Regions from separate parts of the Homo sapiens genome. Here region 1 is linked to region 2. Evidence: promoter capture Hi-C in human tissues and cell types (Jung and others, 2019). All regions are on one chromosome and are shown on one strand. Each heading gives the region's core, a stretch centred on a gene start or on the middle of the fragment in contact. The rest is flanking DNA. Distances are from core to core; before and after follow the strand shown. Region 1 overlaps ACSF2 (acyl-CoA synthetase family member 2). Region 2 holds the start of RSAD1 (radical S-adenosyl methionine domain containing 1).

The links. Contacts are between HindIII fragments. The study calls those that stand out against the background at their distance.
Region 1: a contact is called between a fragment that was not itself captured here and the fragment with the promoter of RSAD1 in region 2, in 5 of the 25 tissues and cell types used here (IMR-90 fibroblasts, adrenal gland, bladder and 2 more).

Annotation. Positions count from the first base shown.
Region 1 is chr17:50,443,553-50,447,663 of GRCh38, reverse strand. The region is part of intron 1 of ACSF2 (acyl-CoA synthetase family member 2); the gene reads right to left. Among named protein-coding and RNA genes, the nearest start is that of ACSF2, 19 kb to the right of the region's middle. The HindIII fragment of the contact is 8,957 bases long and covers 1-4,111 here.
Region 2 is chr17:50,477,291-50,481,614 of GRCh38, reverse strand. It overlaps RSAD1 (radical S-adenosyl methionine domain containing 1), which reads right to left and starts at 2,755. Exons shown (of 9, transcript NM_018346.3): 1 at 2,596-2,755; 2 at 1,853-1,986; 3 at 1,531-1,735. The coding sequence starts at 2,730. RefSeq lists silencers at 1,542-1,928, 2,500-2,989. The HindIII fragment of the contact is 23,554 bases long and covers 1-4,324 here.

The sequences.
Region 1 (4,111 bases), core at 809-3,308, 33 kb after region 2:
ATTCTCCCCGCTTTAAGCACTGTGAACAAAAAAAGAAAAAAACTCTTTGTATGGCAATAAACTGTGTGACTCGTGAAATCATACTTTGATCATCTCATTATTATTATTATTATTATTATTTTGAGACAGAGTCTCACTCTGTGGCCCAGGCTGGAGTGCAGTGGCGCGATCTCGGCTCACTACAACCTCTGCCTCTGGGGCTCAAGAGATCCTCCTGTCCCAGCACCCCCCGAGTAGCTGGGACTCTAAGCGCGCACCACCACATCCGGTTAATTTTTGTATTTTTGGTAGAGACTGGGTTTCGCCATGTTGCCCAGGCTGTTCTTGAACTCCTGAGCTCAAGTGATCTACCTGTCTCAACCTCCCAAAGTGCTGGGATTACAAGAGTGAGCCACCACACCTGGCCATCCTTATTTTAATCATACAAGACACTATGATTCCATATATATGTCCAGAATAGGTAATTCTATAGAGACAGAAAACAGATTAAGTGGTTGCTTAGTGCTGGGAGGGATGGGAAGACAGAGAGATAATAGCTACAAGGACATAGGGTAACTCTGTGAGGTGATGAAAATGTTCTAAAATTGACTATAGTGATGGTTACACATATCTATGAATATACTATAAGCCATTGAATGTACACTTAAAAAATAATGTGCATAATCTACTCCTAGGTATATATCCAATAGAAATCAAACATGTGCTCACCAAAAGACAGGTACTAGGATATTTGTATCATTTCCAATATTTAAAATACCCAAATGTCCATCAACGATGGAACAGATAAATAAGTGGTGACTTATTTGTAATTATACAATAATGAGAGCAAAGGAACTATGATTATGCCCAGCAATCTGAATCTCATAAAACAATGTTCAATGAAAGAAGCCAGATTTTAAAAGGTATACTGTCTAATTCCATTTATACGTACAAAATAGGCAAAACTAATCTATGCTGTTAGAAGTCAGGAGAATGGTCAGTTGGTGAGGGTCAGTGACTTAAAGAGGTCACGAGGGAACTCCTGGTTTCTGGTCATGTTCTGTGTCTTGATTTGAGTGCTGGTTACATGGGTGTGTTCACTTTATCAAAAGTACATCAAGTGGGCCTTAAAATATGTGTACTTTTCTGGCTGGGTGTGGTGGCTTTGGGATGCCGAGGTGGGTGGGTCAGTTGAGGTCAGGAGTTCGAAATCAGCCTGACCAACATGGTGAAACCCCGTCTCTACTAAAAATACAAAAATTAACCAGGCATGGTGGCATGTGCCTGTAATCCCCGCTACTCAGGAGGCTGAGGCAGGAGAATCGCTTGAATCTGGGAGGCGGAGATTGCAGTGAGCCAAGATTGCCTCCAAAAAAAAGTGTACTTTTCTGAATCTGTCATATATTTCAACACGAAGTTTTAAAAAAAAAAACCTTCTAGGGCTTAAGCTACTGCCAATGTAGTCATAATTAATAAACTAAATTTAGCAACATTGCAGTACCTATTTAACATTCTGTCAGAAAAATAAAAGCAGCACATAGCACATCTGTGCAAAATATATACATTAATAAATAAAGCTGGGCAAGCCAAGAAAACACATCTGTTCATGATCTCTGTCTTAGAAATTACTCAAGAAAATAAACAGTCCCAATGTTGAATGTCATAGGCTTTTCCTTCCTGAGGCTGTGTTTTCTGGACAGTCATGGTACAATGTGACTGTTAGCCCTGCCAACCTGTTTCAGATGTGGATGCATGTTCTACAGGTTCAGGAGCACAGAGCAGCTGATGATGCATAGTTGTTCATTTAGAATATGGCTTACTGAATGCAAGGCTCCAGCAAGATCCAGAGGGCAGCTTTACAATTTTTTTTTTTTTTTTAAAGATAGGATGGGGTCTTGCTCTGAAGCCTAGGCTGGAGTGCAGTGGCATGATCACAGCTCACTGCAGACTTGACCTCCCAATTTCAAGTGATCCTCCTATCCCAGCCTCCTGAGTAGCTGGGAACACAGGAATGTACCAGCAGACCTAGATAATTAAAAAAAATTTTTTTTGTAGAGTCAGAGTGTCTCCCTATGTTGCCCAGGCTAGTCTTGACCTCCTGAGCTCAAGCATTCTTCCTGCCTTGGCCTCCCAAAGTGTTGGGATTACAGACGTGAGCCACCATGCCCAGCCTGTAGACACTTTTGATGACACGTCGGGAATGTAATGATTCTGCTTTATGAAAAGATAAGCACTCTCAGAGAGGAAGGCAGAGATGGGTAAATCTGCAGGGTATCTGAACAGAAGAGAAAAGGAACACTGAGTATCTCCTCTGTAATGCAATCATACAGGTTTTCGAGGCAAATTGTCCCAGCAATTTGTGGGAGATGAGGACTTTTATTCCTGTTTTAAAGATGGAGAACACTGAGATGAAAAAGTTAAGCAACTGGTCCAAGATGCTGCTAAAAAGGTTGATTGACAGCCTCATGTAAGTCAGGCACGGTAGCTCATGCCTATAATCCCAACACTTTGGGAGGGTGAGGCAGGAGGATTCCCTGAGTCCAGGAGTTCACGACCAGCCTGGGCAATGCAGTGAGATCCTGTCTCTATAAAAAATTTAAAAATTAGCCAGGGGTAGTGGCATGCACCTGTGGTCTCAACTATTCAGGAGGCTGAGGCAGGAGGATAACTTGAGCCCAGGACTTCAAGGTTGCAGTGAGCTATGATTATGCCACAGCACTCCAGCCTGGGCAACAGAGTGAGCCCCAATCTCTCAAAAAAAAGCCACATTATCTAATTGCAAACATTTTTCCACCAAAACAGACCAAGTGACACTTACACACAGAAGACAATAATGACCAAATCTGCCACAAAGTCACAGAAGATGGAAGACAAATGGCCAGTAAGCATAGGAAGAGGTGCCCATGTCACAGATCAAAGAAAAACAAACATGAGGCATTTGTTCCCCACGAGATAAGCAAAGATGAAAAATATGGATATTATGATGCCTGCAACTTATTTTCAGATGGTGGCAAAAGTGTGTGTGTGTGTGTGTGTGTGTGTGTGTGTTTGCAGAGAGAGAAACTCGGGGGCTGGGGAAGATATCTAGTCTCTGATCCTTTAGCAGCTGATATTTCTTTTTCTTTTTTTTTGGGCCGGAGTCTCACACTATCGCCAGGCTGGAGTGCAGTGGTGCGATCTCAGCTCATTGCAACTTCTACCTCCCTGGTTCAAATGATTCTCCTGCCTCACCCTCCGGAGTAGCTGGGACTACAGGCATGCACCACCGTGCCCAACTAATTTTTTTGTATTTTTAGTAGAGATAGGGTTTTGCCATGTTGGCCAGGTTAGTCTCAAACTCCTGACCTCAAGTGATCCGTCCATCTCAGCCTCCCAAAGTGCTGGGATTACAGGTGTGAGCCACTGCGCCCAGCCAGTGGCTGATATTTCAAACTCAATTCCTTTTGATCACTTATCTAGATTATTACACCACCGGGGCCAAAAAGCTGCTATTCCAAAAATTATATATAGATATAAAATAATTCAACCTGTCTGATACTGTAATAAATGAAACATTACAAGAAGAGAAAATAGAACAAATCAGTAATCCTCTACCCAAACCAAAGATTGCTGTCTTTCTAGAGGAGTCTATATTTAATTTCAAATTTCCATGATAGGCACTTTTGTCAAAGAATATTCATAAGCAGTACTAGAAAGCAGTTGCAGCTAAATAAGAGTTAATCCTTGTAACCCAAGTAGGTTCATGTTCTTGCTGGCTTTATGCAATCAGTGGGAGAGGTTATTTTAAGATAAGCTAGAGCACTAGATGATCACGCTGCATTCAATAGGGCCTAAAAAAAACTCCCCAAGTAGAGAAGATTAATAAAATGGCTATGAATTTCAACATAAAAACAGGAGTTATTGATTATATGGAATGTTGGCAAGGATGTGGAGAAATATACCAGAGTGTAAACTGGTATAAGATTTTTAGAAGATGGTAAGTATAGAGGCAGGAAGCCTAAGAAACTTACACTTTAGCATGCCCCCCAGCCTGGCCCCTCCCTACCATCCTAGTGCTGGGCGTGCCTGGAAATTGGAGAGGGAAAGCTGGCTGCAAATCAAGAAGCATTTATCTGTCAGCATTTCTGACAAA
Region 2 (4,324 bases), core at 1,506-4,005:
TATGCTGAATCATTTAACAGTAAATTATAAACCAGCACTGTCCAAAAGAACTTTCTACAATGGTGGAAATGTTCATATCTGTACTGTCCAATATGATAGGTAGTAGCCACATGTGGTTATTTAAATTTAAGTGAATTAAACTTAACTTACCACATTTCAAATGCTCACTAGTCTGTGGCTAGTGGCCACTATATTGAATAGCAGTTATAGATATTATACTCCCTAACCTCTAAATACTTAGGTGTGTATTTCCTAAAGAACAAGGACATTCTCTTACATAACTGCAATCCAATTACAGAGTTCAGGAAATGCAACACTGACACAACACCATTACATAATACATTGTCATATTCAAATTTGGCTAATGGTCCCAATAACATCTACTGTAGTAATTTCCTCCTTCCTCCCCAGTCAGGGGCCACACATTGTATTCAGCTGTCTCTTCTGTCTCCTTTAGATTCTCAGCCTTTCTTTGTCTCTCATGACACTGGCATTTTTGAAGAATACAGGCCAGTTGTTTAAAATGAATAATTTAATGAATTTAAATAAATTATTATTATTTACGAATTATAATTATTTAAATGAATTATTTAAAATGAATAATTTCTACAGATTGGCTGTATAACACTGTGCTTATAGTTAACAGTGCTGTATGTACATTTAAAAACTTGTTAAGACGGTAGATCTCATGCTGTCTGTTCTTACCACAATAATTTTGTAAAAATCTCTTAATTCAGGGTTTCCTGACAATTAGATTCAAGATATGCGCTTTGGGGTAAGAATATCTTAGAAGTGATGTGTTTCTGTCAGCATATTCCATCAGAACAAAGCCCACAACCCGGAAGTCCTACGGAAATATCGGAGGTCAACCTGAGACGACTAGGTTTCTCCCTACTTAAAAACCTTCAATGGCTCCCTATCATTACTAGGACAAAACCCACACTCCTTAGTAGGCACCAAAGGTTTTGGACTCTACCTTGCAACCTTGTTTCCAGCCTCTCCAATCACAAGGAATGACTCACAACTCCCCCAAAACATGCCAGGCTCTTCCATGGCCTGTGTCGTTTCCCCCACACCCCCTCACCTGGTGAACTCTTCCTCTTCATTCAAACATCTCCTCCAGAGAAGTTTCAGTGATTTCATCAGAGTGACCTCCCTTCAGGCTGTACTCTAGAAGCCTTTTATAGAGACCCCCTTTACAGGTGACATTTACCATGCTGCAATAATCTGGCTACATGTCTGCGTCTCCCGTGTCATGTAGCAAATCTTTTTTGACCACCTACTATGTGCCAGGCACTATGGTAAGTGTTTGAAATAGAAAAGCCACACCTGATCCCTTTCTCATAAAGTCTGTGGTCTATGACAGCAGCAGACAATTAAGGAGTTATAAAAGTGTCGCACTAGGCCCTACTGTGTCCCTGGCACCCAGAAGGTGCTCAATCAATGTTTGCCCAATGAATGAATGTGACCAAAGAGGAGATGGCACTGAAGGGCGGGGTGCACTGGGATGGGGTGAGTGCCATGGGTTACCTGGAGGCCTATAGACAACCTGTTAACCCCTGCTGCCCCGAACTCTGCCAGTCTGGAGCCCGGAGCTGAAGTAGGATTAGCCTCCAATGTGACTTCCAAGTCTGCAGGCAGGTGGGCTGCCTGTGCCACAGCCTCCAGGACAGCAGCCACCGTGTGGGGACTGGCTAGACTGGGGGTCCCCCCACCAAAGAACACAGACTCCACCCTGGGGAAAGAGAATGGAGAAATGAGACCTGGGGGAGCCCTCTGGGATGCCTGCACCTATCCCCCACCACTCCTCCAAATATTTCCCAAAACGCTGCCTACAGCCCCCACTACCCACCGTTGCACCCCGCTGAGCCGCAGCAGCGTCTGAGCTTCGGTCACCAGACACTTCTGCATGGCAGCCTCCTCCAGGCGGCGAGGGATGTACTTGTTGAAGTTGCAGTAACTGCAGCGCTTCTCGCAGTAAGGCCACTGGGGGCAGTGAGTGCACGTGCGCGGTGAGAGCTGCCCTGGCCACTTCCAGGGTTCAGTCGCACACACCCCCAACCCCACCCCCACCCCTATCCCGAGGTCTTTCCACAGTAGCTAGGACATCTAAGCCACACAACTCCCCAAGGCAGGTCGCACTGGGGTTATTACATCCACTTCAATGTGAGAAAACTGAGGCTCACTCCTTTGTTACGCTGCCTCTTCCAACCAGCAGACGTCAGGAAGGAATTCAACCCAAGCTCTTTCTGGGATCATATAATTTTCATACAATTTTCCTATGAGCCATTTTCCCAGCTACCGAGTCAGAACACTGCTCTTAAGAAAATTTTGTCTTGCTAAGAGGAAAATTGTTATGAAATTTGAACCATTTGGTCAGAGTCACCGAGCCGGTGAGTAGCAGAGACTTCAGGTTTCTGGACCAAGTCATTTCCCTGCCAAAGCACAGGGTCCCATCCCAGACCTCGTACGGGGGCACGGAAACACGGCAGGCGGGTTCATAGAGTGACAAACCGCCACCTGGGTTTTGGACGGCCACGGTCACGGCCAGGGCTGCGGCCACACACCGTGGGCTCCGCCCCCGCCCCTACTCACGTGTACGTAAAGCGCCGCGCGCCGGCCCGCAGGCTCAGGACTCGGGGACCCTCCTGCGTTCTCCACGCGGCGGCGCCTCTGGGCCGCTCTGGCTGCTGCCGCCCAGCCGCGAGCCCGGGCTCCGGGGAGCGCCATGGCGCCCAGCGCAGCGCGGCGCACTGACCCGAGCAGGAGACGCGCGCAGGGATCACTGTGAGTGCGCAGCCGGCGGAAGGAAGAGGGGCTGCGTGACCGCGCGACAAGAGGGCCCGGGCCCGGGGCTGCGGCGCCACCTGCCGGGCGCCCGGGCGCTCACTGCGGCCTCCTGTCGGTTCTTTCCCCAGGCCGCGAGGCGGGCTGCTTGCCTTTTGGCACCTTGTGCCCGGGCGAGTTCCCGGACCCATCCAGGAGCTCTTAGTTTGTTCAGTCAATTCCTTGACATTTGATGTGCCTGGCTCAGAACTGGGCGCTGGGGACATCTAGGTGCATAAAGCCAGGTTGCATTCTGGCAGGAGAGAGGCAAGCCAACCGGCCAGGACAGGCAAGGCGTATTAATTCCGTGCCTGCTGGACACCAGAGCCGTCCGCCTCAGTGCTGTGAGGTCATCTGTTTTAAGAGTGTGGGAGTCAGTAGGGCAGAAGAGACACTTGGGCTGGATCTTTCTTTTAATTTCATTTACAAATATTTGGGAGAGGGGAGGTCTTGAACTCCTCGGCCTCAAGCGATCCTCCTGCCTCAGCATCTAGAGTAACTAAGGATTAAGGGCATGAGCCACCACCAGGGCTATGCACGGGATCTTGGAGGAGCAGAAAATCCCAGGGGCAATTGGCTTGGCCGGGAGAGTAGACTGTTTTGGGTCAGGCCAACCCAAGCATCTGGAGGTGTACGTGCTGGAAGGACAGTCAGATGGTGTGTGTAGGAGAGAGGGGGAAGGCGCAGGGGAAGGCCTGGGGAAGCAGGCACCTGAACAACTGTCCCACAAAGCAGAAACATCATGGGCTTCAGAGGCAGGCGGTGCAGGACAGTTCTCCCAGTGGCCTTGAACTGACCTGGTTCTCCCCTCCTTTCTTGCTTGTAGTTCTCAAGAATAACTGTAGACGCCTGTAATCCCAGCACTTTGGGAGGCCGAGGCGGGCAGATCACTTGAGATCAGAAGTTCAAGACCAGCCTAGCCAACATGCTGAAACCCCGTCTTTACCAAAAATACAAAAATTATCCAAGCGTGGTGGTGGGCACCTGTAATCCCAGCTACACGGGAGGCTGAGCAGGGAGAATCCCTCGAACCTGGGAGGCGGAGGTTGCAGTGAGCTGAGACAGTGCCACTGCACTCCAGCCTGGGTGATGGAGCAAGACTGTCTCAATAAATAAATAAATAAAACTGTAGAGTGTGCAGAGAATGCAACATCCTGAGGGAAGGAAGGACTGGCCAGCACAGCCATGCTCTGTTCCAGTCCCCCTAGAAAAAGCATGTCCTTCAACACTTCAGCCCAACATGTCACATGGCCCCAGGGTATAAAGCCCAGGGCAGAAGCCGGGCGCGGTGGCTTACTCCTGTAATCCCAGCACTTTGGGAGGCCGATGCGGGCGGATCATAAGGTCAGGAGATTGAGACCATCCTGGCTAACACGGTGAAACCCCGTTTTTACTAAAAATACAAAAAACTAGCCAGGTGTGGTGGTGCGTGCCAGTAGTCCCAGCTACCCGGGAGGCTGAGGCAGGAGAATTGCTTGAACCTGGGAGGCGGAAGTTG